6 separate regions of the Homo sapiens genome follow, and regions 1, 2, 3, 4 and 5 are each linked to region 6. The links are contacts of gene promoters, found by promoter capture Hi-C in blood cells and fetal thymus (Javierre and others, 2016). All regions are on one chromosome and are shown on one strand. The core of a region is centred on a gene start or on the middle of the fragment in contact, and the rest is flanking DNA. Distances in the headings are between cores, read along the strand shown. Region 1 overlaps TPRKB (TP53RK binding protein). Region 2 overlaps STAMBP (STAM binding protein). Region 3 overlaps STAMBP (STAM binding protein). Region 4 overlaps DUSP11 (dual specificity phosphatase 11). Region 5 has its middle 16 kb from the start of TPRKB. Region 6 holds the start of C2orf81 (chromosome 2 open reading frame 81).

What was found. The method cuts DNA at HindIII sites, captures the fragments that hold promoters and counts their contacts. A CHiCAGO score of 5 or more calls a contact.
Region 1: a contact is called between a fragment that was not itself captured here and the fragment with the promoter of C2orf81 in region 6, in 1 of 17 cell types (naive CD4 T cells). The highest score is 5.3, in naive CD4 T cells.
Region 2: a contact is called between a fragment that was not itself captured here and the fragment with the promoter of C2orf81 in region 6, in 1 of 17 cell types (total CD4 T cells). The highest score is 6.2, in total CD4 T cells.
Region 3: a fragment that was not itself captured here is called in contact with the fragment with the promoter of C2orf81 in region 6 in 4 of 17 cell types (naive CD8 T cells, activated CD4 T cells, M2 macrophages and 1 more); the score reaches 6.6 in naive CD8 T cells.
Region 4: a contact is called between a fragment that was not itself captured here and the fragment with the promoter of C2orf81 in region 6, in 11 of 17 cell types (activated CD4 T cells, total CD8 T cells, naive CD4 T cells and 8 more). The highest score is 11.8, in activated CD4 T cells.
Region 5: a fragment that was not itself captured here is called in contact with the fragment with the promoter of C2orf81 in region 6 in 1 of 17 cell types (neutrophils); the score reaches 5.9 in neutrophils.

Annotation. Positions count from the first base shown.
Region 1 is chr2:73,731,621-73,734,684 of GRCh38, forward strand. TPRKB (TP53RK binding protein) reads right to left here. Exons shown (of 5, transcript NM_016058.5): 2 at 2,809-2,971; 3 at 543-665. The coding sequence starts at 2,949. Among named protein-coding and RNA genes, the nearest start is that of TPRKB, 4.2 kb to the right of the region's middle. The HindIII fragment of the contact is 4,504 bases long and covers 1-3,064 here.
Region 2 is chr2:73,842,941-73,845,640 of GRCh38, forward strand. It overlaps STAMBP (STAM binding protein), which reads left to right. Exons shown (of 10, transcript NM_213622.4): 3 at 1,873-1,948; 4 at 2,227-2,322. The region is part of intron 1 of LOC112268419 (a long non-coding RNA gene); the gene reads right to left. Among named protein-coding and RNA genes, the nearest start is that of STAMBP, 15 kb to the left of the region's middle. The HindIII fragment of the contact is 1,321 bases long and covers 661-1,981 here.
Region 3 is chr2:73,863,775-73,866,493 of GRCh38, forward strand. STAMBP (STAM binding protein) reads left to right here. Exons shown (of 10, transcript NM_213622.4): 10 at 1-2,719. Among named protein-coding and RNA genes, the nearest start is that of ACTG2, 28 kb to the right of the region's middle. The HindIII fragment of the contact is 256 bases long and covers 1,185-1,440 here.
Region 4 is chr2:73,772,617-73,775,677 of GRCh38, forward strand. It overlaps DUSP11 (dual specificity phosphatase 11), which reads right to left. Exons shown (of 9, transcript NM_003584.3): 3 at 2,297-2,428; 4 at 1,184-1,307. Among named protein-coding and RNA genes, the nearest start is that of DUSP11, 6.0 kb to the right of the region's middle. The HindIII fragment of the contact is 1,793 bases long and covers 410-2,202 here.
Region 5 is chr2:73,752,268-73,755,160 of GRCh38, forward strand. No RefSeq gene overlaps it. Among named protein-coding and RNA genes, the nearest start is that of TPRKB, 16 kb to the left of the region's middle. RefSeq lists a silencer at 1,731-1,914. The HindIII fragment of the contact is 4,937 bases long and covers 1-2,893 here.
Region 6 is chr2:74,419,838-74,422,910 of GRCh38, forward strand. C2orf81 (chromosome 2 open reading frame 81) reads right to left here and starts at 1,782. Exons shown (of 3, transcript NM_001316764.3): 1 at 1,706-1,782. The coding sequence starts at 1,723. It overlaps WDR54 (WD repeat domain 54), which reads left to right and starts at 1,893. Exons shown (of 10, transcript NM_032118.4): 1 at 1,893-1,979; 2 at 2,316-2,538; 3 at 3,033-3,073. The coding sequence starts at 2,317. RefSeq lists a silencer at 1,713-1,992 and an enhancer at 2,393-2,572. The HindIII fragment of the contact is 12,224 bases long and covers 779-3,073 here.

The DNA.
Region 1 (3,064 bases), core at 482-2,981, 690 kb before region 6:
TCATGTGCTACATGTGTGATGTCTTTAGCTTGATAACTTTCATTGAAAAAGCATTACTATAAGTATTTCAAACCACAAACTCTACCTATGTACTGGGTGTGTGAGTGAGGCTGTGTTAAGGACTGTTATAGGTACAAGCAAGTTCCTGGTATATGAAAAAGACATGGATCCCACCCTCAAGGAGTTTACGGGAAGAGAGAATGATATGCAGGCTAGCACACAAAATATCCACGCCTAATGTTTTATCATTTAGATTTCTGTCAGCTTCTCAAGCAAAAATACTTGAGGGGTCTTCCTGACCCTATATGGTAAGAACAGATAAAATTAACCTCGCTTAATTTAGCTAAATTTTTGTTTACTCATATGTAAACTGTCTTAGTAAGAGGCAGGGTTAAACCTCAACTCTCTGTCCAGAGCTCTCTTCACTATTATTTGGGTTTATTACTAACCACTGGCTTGCAGGAATTTAGCCTCCAACCCAACACTGAGGAACACATATGTTATTATGACACGGTCAACAGAAATAGGAAAGTGCACATTACATTGTTATTTGGGGAAAGGTTGAAAATAATTTCAGTAGATAGAGTTCTTGTCTTCATTTTTCCCAGTTTGTAGAGGTGAACTGCTTTGTTTGCTGCCACAAGTATCTGAAATGGATCAACAATCTACCAAAGCAAGGAAAAAGAATTAATTACACATGGAGAATCTGCAGTGCCTGAAAACACATGGTAACTCATGGTTAACTCCAGTGTCAAGCTGTTTTACTTCATCACAATTCTTACGGTCTGTATTTTCAAAACTATTATCCCGGCTGGGCACGGTGGCTCACACCTGTAATCCTAGCACTTTGGGAGGCCAAGGTGGGTAGATCACCTGACGTCAGGGTTCAAGACCAGCCTGGCCAACACGGCGAAACCCTCTCTACTAAAAATACAAAAATTAGTCAGGCGTGGTGGCACGCACCTGTAATCCCAGCAACTCAGGAGGCTGAGGCAGGACAATTGCTTGAACCCGGGAGGCAGAGGTTGCCGTGAGCCAAGATCGCGCCATTGCACTCCAGCCTGGGCAACAAGAGTGAAACTGTCTCAAAAAAAAAAAAAACAAAAAACAACTATTATCCCAAGGGCCTGGGTAGTCAGGAAATCACAGAATTTTAAAGCTGCAAGGAACTTATGCAAATAGTAAAATTTTTTTAAATAACATTAATTGAGGGCTAATATTATGGGCATGATCATATTGCAAACATTTTACTTGTAATATTTTCTTTAATCCTCAAAACTACCCTATGAAATTGACACTATTATTAGTAGTAGTAGCAGTAGTAGTAGTATGTAATTGATGAGGAAATTGAGGCAAAGAATGTCTGGGTTTGAATCCCATCTCTGTCACCTATCACCTAGGAAACTTATGCAAGTTCATTAGCATTTTATTTGTTAGAGACCGATGAAACAGTATTCACTCCATAGGCTGTTGTGAAGATTAAGCAAGTTAGTATACGTAAAGCACTTGGAACAATGCTAGGAATGCAGTAAGCACTATATAAAGGTTGGTTATGTCTTGTTCAAAGGCCTAAGTAGTAGGTCTGGGATTAATTCCCGGTAACATGATCGCACTGCGTGTGCCCTGTTTTTTTGTTTTTTTTTTTTTTTGGAGACAGACAGAGTCTCTCGCTCCATTGCCCAGGCTGGAATGCAGTGGCTCAATCTCAATTCACTGTAACCTCCGCCTCCCAGGTTCAAATGATTCTTGTGCCTCAGCCTCCCGAGTAGCTGGGACTACCAGCACACACCACCACACCCAGCTACTTTTTGTATTTTTAGTAGAGACACGGTTTCACTATGTAGGCCAGGCTGGTCTCAAACTCCGGGCCTCAAGCAATCCACCCACCTTGGCCTCTGTGTGTACTCTTAACCACTACACTATTCCTCCTCTACAGACTGTCTTGTTAGGAACCCCCATTTTAAAGATGAGAAGCTGGAGATCCAGGCATTTCCCATATTAGACCCAGACCACAACCTTTCCTATTTCCTAGGGCAGGACCTGGCACTTCTGCCTCTATTCACTGTTATAGTCAAAGTTGGCTGCATCTGACTTGGACAAGAATTTTTTCCCTAACCGTGACAGATTTTTAGGCTACCCTATAACATCACAAATATTAATGTATACTTAAATGCCCTGTATGGCTCATTCATTCTTTTTTTTTTTTTTTTTTTTTGAGGCGGATTCTTGGTCTGTTGCCCAGGCTGGAGTGCAGTGGCACAATCTCGGCTCACTGCAACCTCTGCCTCCCAGGCTCAAGCGATTCTCCTGCCTCAGTCTCCTGAGTACAGGTGCCCACCACCATGCTCAGCTAATTTTTGTATTTTTAGTAGAGACAGGGTTTCACCATATTGGCCAGGCTGGTCTCAAACTCCTGACCTCATGATCTGCCTGCCTCGGCCTCCCAAAGGGCTGGGATTACAGGCGTGAGCTACCATGCCTGGCCATTTTTTTTTTCCAGACAGAGTTTTGCTCGTCGCCCAGGCTGGAGTGCAATGGCGCAATCTTGGCTCACTGCAACCTCTGCCTCCAGGGTTCAAATGATTTTCCTGCCTCAGCCTCCCGAGTAGCTGGGATTATAGGCGCCCGCCACCACGCCCAGCTAATTTTTGTATTTTTAGTTGAGACAGGGTTTCACCATGTTGGCCAGGCTGGTCTTCAACTCCTGACCTCAGATGATCCACCCGCCTCGGCCTCCTAAAGTGCTGGCATTACAGGCGTGAGCCACCGCACCCAGCAGGCTCATTCATTCTTAAAATTTATATTTACCACTGTAGGATTTATCAGTGATCCATCGATGGTGCCTTCCATGGCCTTTCTTCTCAAGTCTCCCGCATTTTTTACATCTTTAAATAACAGAAGGGTTACCCTGCATTCGGGAAATAGGTCCAGCTGATGTGTTAACTGCATTTCACAGATAAGCAGGATTCTACTGCACACAAAATGAAAAGACCAAAAGATTTCATTTAAAAGTTAACATCAGAACTCATTTCTTAATAAATATTCAAAAACTTTGAAAGTAACT
Region 2 (2,700 bases), core at 71-2,570, 580 kb before region 6:
GACATAGTACTTTCTTAGCTGATTCAGGCCTCAATACAAAGCACATTCAGCCTGCTAAAGGTAGTAAATATTAATATGTATCTTGGCTTTTGGGGCTAAGATGAGAGTTCTACTGAATCATCTATCAGTCTCTAAAATATAAGAAATATGTCTTATTTATCTTAATAGATTCTTCAGGACTTTATGGTTTGAACAAATGAATCTGTATTTCTTTTAAATATAGACTTCAAGGAAACTGTTTTATATCTTTCTTTTTTTTTTTTTTTTTCCAAATAGAGATAGGATCTCCCTCTGTCACCCAGGCTGGAGTGCAGTGGTGTGATCAAAGCTCACTGTAACCTCAGACTTCTGGGATCGAGAGATCCTCCTGCCTCAGCCTCCCAAGCAGCTGGGACTACAGATGCATACCACCACACCCAGCTAATTTTTGTGTTTTTTTATGTTTTGTTATATATGTTTGTGTATGTATATATATATATGTATATATATATATAAATTAAAAAATATAAATAGAGACAAGGTCTCACCCTGTTACCCAGGCTGGTCTTGAACTCCTGGGCTCAAGCAGTCTTCCTGCCTCGGTCTCCCAAAGTGCTGGGATTACAGGCATGAGCCACCGCACCCAGCCTCTTTTATATCTTCTTCATGAACCCAAAAGGAAGCTTTTTAAAGAACCATTTTTATTTTAGAGTCCATCCCTGCCTTGAGGAGCCTTATCAAGTTGGATCAAAATGAAACTTGTGTGCCTAATATAGAACTGAAGGATGAGGACTTATCTTTAGAAAGTTTGTTTTGGTGGGGATCATCTTTTTTCTTTATTGAGGATTCTTCTTCCAATTACTTCTGCCCCATGGGCAGTAAGTAGAAAAGAGTTTATCCCAATTACAATATAATATTTTAGAGCTATCAGCAAGCTACCTTCAATTTATTTTTTTATCTCAGTTTCTGTGTATTACAACTTAATTCTGTTAAAAGACATCTTTGTTCAGAATCCCTCCAGTAGTTCTAGACATTCCAGAATCCGTATGGAAGAAGTATGGTGTAGTGGTTAAAAGAATAGGCTCTGGAGCCAGCCTGCTCATACTGAAATTCTGAATCTGCCACTTTCTTTCTGTGACAGGTTACTGGACTTTTATTTATTTTCACTGCCCCTAAGTAGATGTCTTAAATGTTAGAGATTTGTGAATTAATTAAGTTTATTCTCCCCACTGAGCTTTAGAGCCATGGACAAGAACCAAAAGATGAAATCTAGCATCTTATATTTACCTAAGCACTTTTCATCAAAGACAGTGCATGCTAACATGTAATATGCACATACTACATGCATAGAACACATGCACTAAGTATTTCCATGCATTTTTGTATGATGCAAAGTAGTATTCTTCTTTGAAGGAACACGAATCCCAAAGGAAAAAAGCCAAAGTTAAAGGTTACATAAGAGCTAGAAGGAGTAAGGAAACATGGTTTTCTCTTGCTTCCTGCCCATGGCTGCCAAACGGTTCTCTGAAGACTGCTATGTGACAGAAGCCCTTTCCTTTGAAAACCTGTCACGTCACAACAAGAAAAAGATCTCTTTCTTTGGAGGTACATTTTTGGGCACAAGAAAGGCTTTTTAAAATTTTTTTGGCCATCTTTTTCATTGTAGGAGTCTGGTGCTTGCTGCCTAGTTTGGGAGTAGAGGAAAAGACTCTGGCTCTTTAGGGGGATAGAGATGGGAAAGGAGCATGGCCCAGCTGGGTGTATTAGCTCTCCCTCCGCTGCACTTCTGGAACCTTTCATATAAGGGCTTCAGGATAAGGGGGTTGCATAGCTTTAGGGTCTTATGGACATTTGGACCATTTGCTTCATAATCATTTTGAACTGTTTCCTTAGGCTCTTTATTGAGAAACTACCAAAACATCGAGATTACAAATCTGCTGTCATTCCTGAAAAGAAAGACACAGTAAAGGTGGGTCTTCACTTTCATTGTTGCCCATCTAAAAGCTTCAGAGCAGCACAGACTGACTTCAAGATAAAAGTAGTAGTCTCTGCATCTGAGTACCAGATCCTGCAATAGGAGATAAGGCCATTTCACCACAACAGTTCTGAAGTAGCAGGTATGGTACAGTAGGGGGTATTTTAAATCATTTTGGGAAATGTTGCAGTCACCAACTTGACTTAAGTCTTCTTTTGGATTCTGTAATTTTCTGGCATTGTTCTAATTCTATTTTCTGTTTTGTGTCTCAGAAATTAAAGGAGATTGCATTTCCCAAAGCAGAAGAGCTGAAGGCAGAGCTGTTAAAACGATATACCAAAGAATATACAGAATATAATGAAGAAAAGGTCAGTATATAACAGCTAAGAAGAAAATTATTTTGCTTTTTTAGGCTGTGCCCTGGGATTGTAATATGACATTTCAATATATCCTGTGCTTTTAATGTGCTGTTTCACCTTTTTTGGGCAAAGACCAGAAACTCAAAAAAGTAGAACACCAGTGGTTAGGCTCAGGGTTGTAACACAGATATAGCCTATTTGTCGAAGAGAGTGACTTGAGGGACAGAAAATCTGTCGCCTACCTGCTATGTCTAGAGTGAGAATCATAAGAACAATGAACATTCTCTCCAAAACATAGGTTTTTAGATCAGAGAATTTGAGGGTTGGATTCACATTTGGTTATACCTGAAGCTATTTATAAGAATTGACTTTTCAAGCTATTTTTTT
Region 3 (2,719 bases), core at 63-2,562, 560 kb before region 6:
TTTGTCTACCACTTAGCTTAGGGCTTTCTTACCTTTTATTTCGACTGTAGCCGTTGGCTTTTACCAAGTCTCTTTGTTTTTAGCATTTCTTCATTCCAGTCTGTTCTGCACACTTTGATCAGGAGAAGCTTCTCACATTCCAGCCATGTTCATGTTTTCTCTCTTGCTCAAAAACCTGCAATAGCTTCCCATTGCTGAAAATCTAAATTTAGCTTTTAGTCAGAACTTTCCACTTAAAGTTCTTACCCCTGGCTATATATTCAAATATCTAGGGAGCAATTTAAAAAATACTGATGCCTGTGTTCTACCCCCCACCAATTAAAGCTGAATCTCTAGGGTGGAGCCTCAGATGTTGTTTCTGCATTTGTCTTTCAAGCTGCTAGAATTCTCAAGTACAACCAGGGTTGACAACCACTGCATTGGTCTTTGATACCTAAGAATTGTGAGCTCTCTTATCCGTCTCTGCCCACCAAAGACATTCAGCCAGGTCAACAACATATCATACGTTGCAACCACATTGATCACAGACTGATCACCAAACTGCTATATTTTCTTTTCTCTTCCTCTAGGCACAAGATATCTTAGTGGCTAGATGGGTGCAGGAAATCAGTCTGTAGATCCCTCTTCATATCTGCTGCAGCCTAGCCACTGCAGAGGCACTCTGCATAGGATGGTCTAAGTGTCTCTGTCTTCATCTTACCTCTGTGGAGGAGACGTGGAATCAAGCCAGCCCACAAGCCCTGAGACTGGATAGGCCGGAGAGAAAGAGGAGTAGCCAGAGCGGTCGGGAAAAGAGGAAAGGAATACTGTGGGTAAAAGGGACAAAGACCACGCAACCTGAGGAAAGACATTGTATTGAAAGGGTAATGACTATTTGGCTAAAGGGACTGACTCCTGGGTTCCCGAGGCTCAAAGACCAGGAGACTTTTCCACTCTTGCAAGCTGCACAAGTACCATACTTAGTGTTCTGGGCTGAGAGGGGAGACAAAAGCATCGTCAGGTTGCCAAACAATGTCCCAGTTGCCCTGGGAGGCACAAACCTACCAAAGTGCCATAGGCCAGGTGCAGAGAGAATCAGAGGAGCTGATTTGCTTGGGGTCAGAGCAGAGCTGGGTTTTTTCAGATGATCACTTTCACATACTCCTTGTTAAATGGGACCAAAGGGGAAGAAGAAGAAACCCTTAAGCTTTTGTAATATTGTCTTGGGTACCAGATACCATAAAAGGCAGCATGAGAGAAACATTCCCTTGGGCCAGTGTCATGGTGGATTTTCTTGCTTGAGAGGCAAGGATTTCAGCTTTCATTTGGTACCACAGAATTTAAAATTGTAAGTGCCTATCCCTTTTGACTGTTGATGGCTTCTTTGGGGTTTTAGTTACCCCAGTTGAAAGAGAAATTTTTCATATTGGGGTTGAGAAGAATGGAGGCTATTAGGAGCAAAGCTTTAATGAGTGAAAGTCTGGTGAATCCTGCAATTTTGATATGTTTCCAGTGGATTTTGAGAACACAGTTTTAGGACCAGAGTAGATGTTGTTCCCTAGAAAATAGAGTCAGCTATTGATATTGTGCCTCCCATCCCTCATATCTCAGTGTTTTAACCCCACCTGAGTTTGGAGACCAGTTTGTCCAAGGATCTTTCAAACATGTGAGCCCAGAGTAGAACTTCTGAGTCAAGGATCATGTCTTTTTCTGAGGAGCTTTGCTTGGGGCACTGGAAATCCTGTTTAGATCAGGACTATTGGAATATTATCCTCTCCAGGGGAAGTGCCAGGTTGAACATTTAAGGCTTTGCTTCTAGGCCCAGCTATACATTCACCAGCAAATCACTTAACTTCCTAAATTTCTTTAAAATCTGTAAAATGGGATCAGTCTAATATGCCTACCTCAAATGATGACAGAATGACATCTATATGCATATGAGGCCTACGTTAGTTGAAAGATGCTATAAAGATATAAGGGATTTGTTACTTGTCTTTCTTGAAATGTTACAGTTGGGGTGCGGTTGCTTCTATCTTCTGGACCTCTGCCCATTCAGCATACAGCTAGAGGAATCTTTGGGCAGATCCACATTCTTTAGCACTAGCTAGGCTTTGACTCCAAAGCTATCTGGTCTACCTTGATGTTCTGAGCAGGAAAACTGAGGACCTCAAGAACCATTCCAAATTTCTACTCATTCTCCCTAAGACCCAGAGCAGACCCAGGACCTAAAGAAATTACATCATCTCTATTTTCCCTTGGCTCCAGCCCACTCTTGTTTGAACCTCCCACTTTTGTTGTTCCAACTACTTCTTGAGATGAAGGAAGGGCAGAACATTGGCCCTCTTCACTGAAGTCTTCACCCCTTAATCCAGGGTTCAATTTTTAGTTCACCTTAGCCTGTTTGAGATTAGAAGCTGGGCCTTAACTTACAGGTGTGTCCGGCATCATTCAATCAGCCTGTTAGATCCAGAATCCAGCACTGTGACGCTACATAACCATGGGCTCTGTCCTTCCAGTTCCTTTAGTGCCTTCCCTCACTGGTAGGTTCACTCTGAGGGCTTCCTTCCTTGAACTCCAGTGGCAACTATAGTCTGTTTCCCACAATTTGTTGTGTGTGTTTTTTGTTGTTTTGCAGCGTTTTCATATTGTCTTTTATGTAAGTCATGTTTCTGAACTATCGTATAAATTTCATTAGGGTAAGAATCATGTTTGCTTTATGCACTGTGTAACATGCCTTGCA
Region 4 (3,061 bases), core at 56-2,555, 650 kb before region 6:
TGAATAGGCCATCAGCTGTACCCTCATATCTTAAAAGGTAGTATTTCTGTGACAACAGCTTATACAAATGGGAAAGCCAAACCTCTCAAGTTTTAAAGTTAAAGTACAGGGGAAGATCTGTGAACAAGGTTTAACATAATTAAAAGCTAGTGTCCACATTAAGTGAGCGACTAGGTTACAATTTGAAATTTTATCTTCAAACCCACTGATCCAGTCTCTATCTCTCACCTTCCATTCCCTATCTTCCCACCTCTGTCTCTATTCTTTCTCCACTACTCCATCACATTTTTTAAAAAGGAGTATTTACTGTCAGATTTATGTAACAAAGTGTACACTCCTCAAGCTAAATTTGGAAAGAAGGCAAATGAAGCCTCTGTCCTGTGGGTGTCAGTGGCTTTCCAAAGATAAAAGCTTCTTCAGTCTTAAAATATGACAAATATCATGTTCTTTCTGGCAGAGAGATGCCAGAAAAAGGCAACTGGATCCTTAAGATAAAGAAGCTGTTAAGTTCTATTTTCAAAAGAGTAAGGTAAATCTTAAAGCAGGAACAAGAAAGCACCAGCCTTTGGCTTAAGTTCTCCCATGTGAAGAATAAGAGGTGGTGGTATCCTTCCCCATCTGTACTCAAAGCGGAAAAACAGCAGAAATATCTTTTTTTTAATTATACTTTAAGTTTTAGGGTACATGTGCACAACGTGCAGGTTTGTTACATATGTATACATGTGTCTTAAATACATATGACAAAGGGGCAATTCCACTGGTGCACTCTTTCTTGTTTTGCTTCTAGGGGTCCGTCCCATTCTTAATCTTTGCCCTTTCTTGTCTCTTTCACATAACTCTAAGACTCAGAGTTTTTTAATCTTTTCTTCTACTTCTCACTTCTTAACCAATATAGAAGACAAAAATAACATTTTAATTTTATATATTTCTCATTCAAATTAAAAAAGAAAGATGAGCCAGTTCAGTTCATATTTTGCACTAAAACTAATTTAACATTCCAAAGTTAAATTATTTGTGATCAACAAAAGGAAAAACATCTTACCCTATTAGCACCATCTGACATTTTCATCACCTTAGCATCATTAAATACAACAGGTCTGAGGTTGGAACTATAAAAAAATACCAAAAATCCCCAACCCCATTCATAATGCACACCACAGTTCAGGTAAGAACAAAAACTCACCATTATCTTTATTTTCTTTCAAAAACCCATTAACAGCGTGTTTGAATTTAAAAATAGTCTCATCATCAGGCACTTGATGTCCAACTGTAAAAATTTTTAAGTAAGGAACAGTTTCTGGCAAATCCTATAAAGCAAAACCATAAAAGATGTGTATTATTTCACTTGTAGAGAAATAATTAAAGAGTAATTAGGGGACCCAGAATATAAGCCAAGAGATTATAACAAACTTAATATGCCAATATCAGTATACACAATTCTGATAAAAGAGCCATTTTTTCCAACACTGCTTCAACCAGGAAGTATCACTTGATTTTCAATAAAACTACATAATAGATAGTCACTAGGTATACAAAACTGAAAGCAAATTCCATGTGAATGAATGCATATTTAACTATAAATTATATAAACAGTTCCATTTAATATTTTATAATTCAAGGGCCAGTGCCTTCATAAAGCAGCTATGATTTAAGTAGAAGAGTAGAGAATAGAGTCAGAAGAACTTGGATTTGAATTGTGAGATAGAGGGAATTCCAGGCACTATTGAGAACCGATATTCTTGGGGTGGGAGAAAAGTAGATACAGATAAAAGACAGAAGAGGCTAAGTCAAAATCATTTTAACCATCCACAAGTGTATAGTTCAGTGGCATTACATTCACAGTATTGTGTAACCATCACCACTGTCTATACCCAAAACTTTTTCATCATCCCCGACAAAAAGACTCTGACCACTAAACCATAATTCCCTTTTCTCCCCACCTCATAGATCCTTTAGTCTGCTTTCTGTCTCTGTGAATTTGTCTATTCTAGGTACTTCATACAAGTGGAATCATATATTTGTCCTTCTGTGTCTGGTTTATTTCACTAAGCATGTTTTTAAGGTTCATCCATATTGTAGCACGTATTAAATCTATTCTTTTTTATGGCTGAATAATATTCCATTTAAGACAGCAATTAAAAACATGTAATTAGAGAAATCACTTGGTTCTCTTTTAAACTTACTACCCATCAAAGAAGGCCAAGCTTCACATTAGCACAAGATGATTACTGAATTACTATAAATTATTTTAGGATCAGAAGGAAGAAAGTTCTTTTCATTGAAGGGTTCCACTTACCTCTGGTTTATAATAGCGTTGAGTATATGTTAAATCAATAATCAGTCCAAGTTCTTCATTTTGTTCTCGGATTTTGTTAAAAAGATCCAAAGGGGAAAAGCATTCTTCTGGAGCAAGTTTCTTTTCAAAACTCTGTCACAGAGAATGAAATAAGAGCAAATATGTGCTTAAAATCCTGTACTACATTAGGCATTTATTCAAGTCCTGTGATGCTAACATACAACGAGATTCAAAGGAAAGTTTCCATTCTCCTGGAACATAGAAGGTATATTACAACAATCCTTTCTTCCAGAGTGGTCAGAAAGAAAAAAATAAGCCCACTTCTATATATGTATTTCTGTATTTGTTTCATGTTGGTCTCCTAATCAGACTGTAATCTCCCAGATTTTATTCACCACTGTATCTCCAGCTCCAGGTGGAGTGCTTATCATATTTAGTGCTTATAAATATTTCTTTTCTTTTTTTTTTTTTTTTTTTGAAACAGGGTGTTGCTCTGTCATCCGTCATCCAGGCTGGAGTGCAGTGACACAAACATGGCTCACTGCAGCCTCCACCTCCTGGGCTCAAGCAATACTCCCACCTCAACCTCACAAGTAGCTGGGACTACAGGCATGAACCACCACACCTGGCCTTTTTTTTTTTTTTTTAAAGAGATAGGGTCAGCTGGGCGCAGTGGTTCACACCTGTAATCCCAGCACTTTGGGAGGCCAAGGCGGGAGGATCACAAGGTCAGGAGATCGAGACCATCCTGGCTAACACTGTGAA
Region 5 (2,893 bases), core at 220-2,719, 670 kb before region 6:
AATATCTTTGGAAAAACAATAATCCCCCCTATCCCAACCCAAGCAAATGGCTGGGCTATTCTTGTCTATATTTCTGACCTACCACCCGACAAGGGCAGATACTCACTTTGTTAAAGTGCTGCTCACAGCAGAAGAAAGGCATGTAGTCACAGAAAAGGCTAGGGAAGAAGCAAATCGGCTCCATCTGGAGGCAGGAAACAATCACCCCTGGCCAATAGACTCAGTCCCTAACACAGAGACCAGGTGCGATGTAAATGGTGGGGCCTTTCCCACTTAGGACACTATGAGAACCACATCCTTGAAGGTTTGAGGAAAGGGGTTACTCAGGTTAAGAGCCTCAATAAGGTACAGGAAGTACAGCGGCAAGCATATGAGGACCCTTTGTAATTCCCAGAAAGACTCCATCAGACATGTGGAAAGTAGGTTGACGCTAACTAACCCTGAGGCACCGGACAATCAGAGAATGGTCAATGTGACCTTTATCAGCCACAGTGCCCTGATATTCAAAGAAAACTGCAAAAGGTAAATGGGATCCTTGGGTTGCCAATCTCACATTTAGTGGACTTAGCTTTTAAAGTGTACTATGCTCAGGATGAGGCTCAGGAAAGTGCAAATTGAAGCAACAAGTAACTCACTGGCAGCTGTGCTTGACTACCAACCTAGGGGAAAAGGAAGAAATCAAAGAGCGGCTCACGCCCCCTTCAGAAAAAAAACCAATATGCCTATTGTAAGAAGGAGGGACACTGGAAAAAGGGCTGTCCCAAATTGACCAAAGCAGCTAGCAAGTGCAGTGTCCCTCAAAATCAGATGAGGAGAGAGAATAATATTTAGATGAAGACTGATGTGTCCCAGGGACTCCCTTAGACTTGGAGCAACCAGTGGCTATATCCCCACAGGATTCCTAGATACAACTGACAGTGGGGAACAGAATGATTGACTTTTTACTTGACACAGTGCCACATATTAATTAATTAACAATTGTCTCTCTCCAGCTTTGGGAAAAACCATTACTGTTACACGGATATTGGGAGACACCATTATCCCTTTCTACAATCTTCAGGTTACCATTTACGAGAGACCGGCCTAGGGCATAGTTTCTTGTACATGCTTAATGCCCAGTGCCCCTCCTGGGCTGGGATTTGCTTGCCAAATTGTATGCTCAACTTGTCTTTCCCCCCAGATGCCTAGATATAATGATTCCTTCTGAACAAGTTTGCAGGTTTCAAATACTCCTGCTGCAACCAGAAAACGAAGAGGTTCAGGACATTCCAGAAGAAATTCTCACACAGGTAAGGAGAGATGTTTGGGCCCAAGGGAAGCCAGGGAGAGTGGTCACAGCCAAACCCATAAAAATTAAAAGAGAGACACAGAATACCCATTAAAGGAAGTGGCATGAAAGGGTATTCAACCACTCTTGGAAGGCTTTTTTGGCACAAGGACTGATTTGGTCCTGTAATTCTCCCTTTAACATTCCTGTTCTACGGTGGGCAGCAAGCCACCCAGGTGCTGAGGCAAGAGACCGAGGGCACAAGTTGTTCCAGTATAATAAAATATATAAAACAACAAGAGTTATACTAGATCTAAATCATAGACATGATTATATATGAATATCATTAATCATTAGTTTGTAGCAATTACTCTTTATTCCAATACTGTAATAATCCTCGCTCTATAATCATAACCTAGGAAAAACCAGGCCATACAGAGATAGGAACCGAAGGGACATAGTGAGTGAGAAGTGATCAGAAGACAAGAGTGCAAGCCTTCTGTTATGCCCGGACAGGGCCACCAGAGGGCTCCTTGGTCTAGTGGTAATGCCAGCGTCTGGGAAGACGCCCATTGCCAAGCAGACCGTGGTCTAGCAGTAGCATCAGTGTCAAGGAAAAACACCCGCTACTTAGCAGACCGGGAAAGGGAGTCTCCCTTTCCCTGGGGGAGTTTAGAGGAGATTCTACTCCTCCACCTCTTATGGAGGGCCTGACATCAGTCAGGCCCGCCCGCAGTTATCCGGAGGCCTGACCCTGTCTCCCTGTGATGCTGTGCTTCAGTGGTCACGCTCCTAGTCTGCTTTCAAGTTCCATCCTGTACACCTGGCTCTGCCTTTTAGATAACAGTAGCAAAATTAATGAAAGTACTAAAAGTCTCTGATATGCAGAAATAATGGCGTAAGCTGTCTCTCTCTCGCTCTCCCTCTCTCTGCCTCGGCTGCCAGGCAGGGAAGGGCCCCCTGTCCAGTGGACACGTGACTCACGTGACCTTATCAATCACTAGAGATGACTCACACTCTTTACCCTGCCCCTTTTGCCTTGTATCCAATAAATAACAGTGCAGCCAGGCATTCGGGGCTACTACTGGTCTCTGCATCTTGGTGGTAGTGGTCCCCCAGGCCCAGCTGTCTTTTATCTCTTTGTCTTGTGTCTTTATTTCTACAATCTCTCGTCTCCACACATGGGGAGAAAAACCCACTGACCCTGTGGGGCTGGTCCCTACATCTTACCATCATGCAAGTCCCATTAAGACAACTACAGTTTCGGCTGGGCGTGGTGGCTCACGCCTGTAATCCCAGCACTTTGGGAGGCCGAGGCGGGCGGATCACGAGGTCAGGAGATCAAGACCATCCTGGCTAACATGGTAAACCCCATCTCTACTAAAAATACAAAAAAGTTAGCCAGGCGTGGTGGCAGGCACCTGTAGTCCCAGCTACTCAGGAGGCTGAGGCAGGAGAATGGCTTGAACCTGGGAGGCGGAGCTTGCAGTGAGCCGAAATCGTGCCACTGCACTCCAGGCTGGGTGACAGAGCGAGATTCGTCTCAAAAAAAAAAAAGACAACTACAGTTTGTACAAGACTTAGGGCCAGTAATGAAACAGTCTAGGACATACACCCTATGGTAAC
Region 6 (3,073 bases), core at 532-3,031:
CTCGGCTCACTGCAACCTCTGCCTCCCAGGTTCAAGCAATTCTCCTGCCTCAGCCTCCGGAGTAGCTGGGATTACAGGCGCCTGCCACCAGGCCTGGCTAATTTTTTTTCTATTTTTAGTAGAGATGGGGTTTCGCCATGTTGGCCAGACTGGTCTTGAACTGGCCTCAAGTGATCTGCCCACCTTGCAGGCATGAGCCACCAACCCAGCCATTAAAGGTAATCTTTAGAAAGAATTTGCAATGGCATAAAGCAAATGTTTATGATGTAACGTTAATTGAAAGAAGCAGGATACAAACTTACACATCAATTATGATCTCATATATGTAAACCACTATGTGTTCAACAAAAGGAAAACTTCAAAATGATAACAGAGGATACGTTTCCTTCCTATGCTCTTTTCTATTTTGTAAGTTCTCTACAATGAGTTTGTTTCCTTTTGTAATCACTTAAAAAAAAAAAAAGACTAGTCCCCAAAACTCACTTTAGAGACATAAAAAGTTTACAAACAATCTCTTGGGAGCTCCCTCAATTCCCCACAACAGTCTCCCTGAACCTGGTTCCTTCCAAAATGTACTTCCAAATGTGATCTTCCCAAACCTTTGCCTATTGCCCCGCTAAAACCTTGTCTCATATCTGTTTCCTAAAATTCATTATCCCCCCAAATCTGCTGTTTCCTAAGTCTTGCAGAACTCAAAATCCCTGAAGTCTCATTAACCCTATCCACCAGTGAGAACAGCCCTGTAGCAAGCACCAGGAGTGGCCCATAGCCCAGGCCAAGCTTGACTAGAGCAGGGCTGACTGGACTGAGTAAAGAGAGTTGTTTCCTTAGACCTCCCCTCCCAGCCTCGCATCTGACACCCGTGATGGTGACCAGAAGGGACAGAGATATTTTTGCACAAAGGCTCTTCAAATCCGTTTTCTTTCTTCTTCTTCTTTTTTTTTTTTTTTTTTTTTTTTTTTTGAGACAGTCTCTCTCTGTCACCCAGGCTAGAGCGCAGTGGCGCGATCTCGGCTCACTGCAACCTCCGCCTCCCGAGTTCAAGCAATTCTCCTGCCTCTGCCTCCCGAGTAGCTGGGATTACAGGCACCGCGCCACCACATCCAGCTAATTTTTTGTATTTTAGTCGAGACGGGGTCTCGCCATGTTGGCCTGGCTGGTCTTGAACTCCTGAGCTCAGGCAATCCTCCCGCCTCAGCCTCTCAAAGTGCTGGGATTACAGGCATGAGCCATTGAGACCGGCCCCGTTTTCTTTATTTTAAAATTGATTGGCTCTTAAACAATTTGACTTTCAAGTGCAGTCTCTGAATTATTTAATATATTTCTTCCTCTTGAAATTCTCGAAATAGATTTTTTCTGTTATCTTCCCTCTCTAAATGCTCATCCATTTAAATACGCACCACCATGTAAGAGACTTACTACATTCATTAGCTGTTTCAAAATCCACTTCCTGTTCTCGGGCTCTACACCACCCACTGACCCTTTCCCTCATGGCTTGAGTGTAACAAAGCGTTTGAGTGGGCACCGTGCAGGTGTAGGTTTTCTGCCCGAGTACCGACGTGGCTTCCTTGGTCATCTAAACTCCCGCGCGGTGGGCGGGAGCAAGTAGGGGCACTGGGCGGCCCAGAGCCAGCCCACTGTTCCCGACACCGACCTTAACGGCCGACCCTGGCTCTGGCGCATCCCCAGCTGAACTGAAGCTCACCGAGCCTTCGTGCGCCATCGCCAACGCGGTCGCAGCAACGCTGGTGTTTCTGCTGCATCCGGGCCGCGTAAGCCACCTAACAGTCGCCTGGGCAACCACGGGCTCGGGGTCGCTCGCCCCGCCCACAGTTGCCCCGGCAACCGCGCCGCCCGCGGCACGTTCCGGCCGCTCACCCCGCCCAAGGGCCGTGCGTACGTGCGTCGTCTCTATGGTGGCGGCGGATTTGGAGGGACCCTACGAACCAGGAGTCAGGCGAGCCGATCTGGGGCTGCAGGTGTTACCTCTGATCTAGGCCGGGGGCTTCAGGGATCCGAGCCGAGGGAGAAAGCCTTGGGGGCTTCATCACACTTATTTGGCTCGCGGGCTTGGGGCCATCGGGTGGTCCTGTGTCATCCCCATTCCTCCTCTGCGATTCCCCCGTCGCCCCAAAACAGCCCTGGGACTCCCCTGTCTTGCTCCTCGAGACCCTCCCCCATCACCGTCCTCTGGGCACCCCATCCTATGACCCAGTCTCAGGCATCTTCCGAAATGCTCGATGATAGCCGCCCTCGGGCATCTCCGCTGCGTCTGTTTGTAGCGCGCCTGGTGATTCGGCTGCACCCCCACACAGGATGTTCCGCTGGGAGCGCTCCATTCCCCTGCGAGGCTCGGCCGCCGCCCTGTGCAACAACCTCAGTGTGCTGCAGCTGCCGGCTCGCAACCTCACGTATTTTGGCGTGGTTCATGGACCAAGCGCCCAGCTTCTCAGCGCTGCTCCTGAGGGTGTGCCCTTGGCCCAGCGCCAGCTCCACGCTAAGGAGGGTGCTGGAGTGAGTCCCCCACTTATCACTCAGGTGAGGCATGGAGCTGGGAGTGATGTTGCTGAACCCAGTCCTACCCCCAGCCTTTTCTCTCCAAACCTTCAGGAGCAGGCATGTCCTAACCTCAGAATCTCCCCAGGCATGTCCTAACCTCAGAATCTCCCCTCTCCTGCCGGGCGCGGTGGCTCACGCCTGTAATCCCAACACTTTGGGAGGCTGAGACGGGCACTTGAGGCCAGGAGTTCGAGACCAGCCTGGCCAACATGGTGAAACCTCTTCTCTACTAAGAATACAAAAAAAATTAACCGGGTGTGGTGGCGTGCACCTGTAATCCCAGCTACTTGGGTGGCTGAGGCAGGAGAATCGCTTGAACCCAGGAGGCTGAGGTTGCAGTGAGCCGAGATGGCGCCACTGCACTCCAGCCTGGGCCACAGAGCAAGACTCCGTCCCCCAAAAAAAAAAAAAAAACAAACAAACTCATCTTCCCTGCTTTGATTTTCTCCCTACACTGATGCACCTCCCTCCAGGTCCACTGGTGTGTCCTCCCCTTCCGAGTGCTGCTGGTACT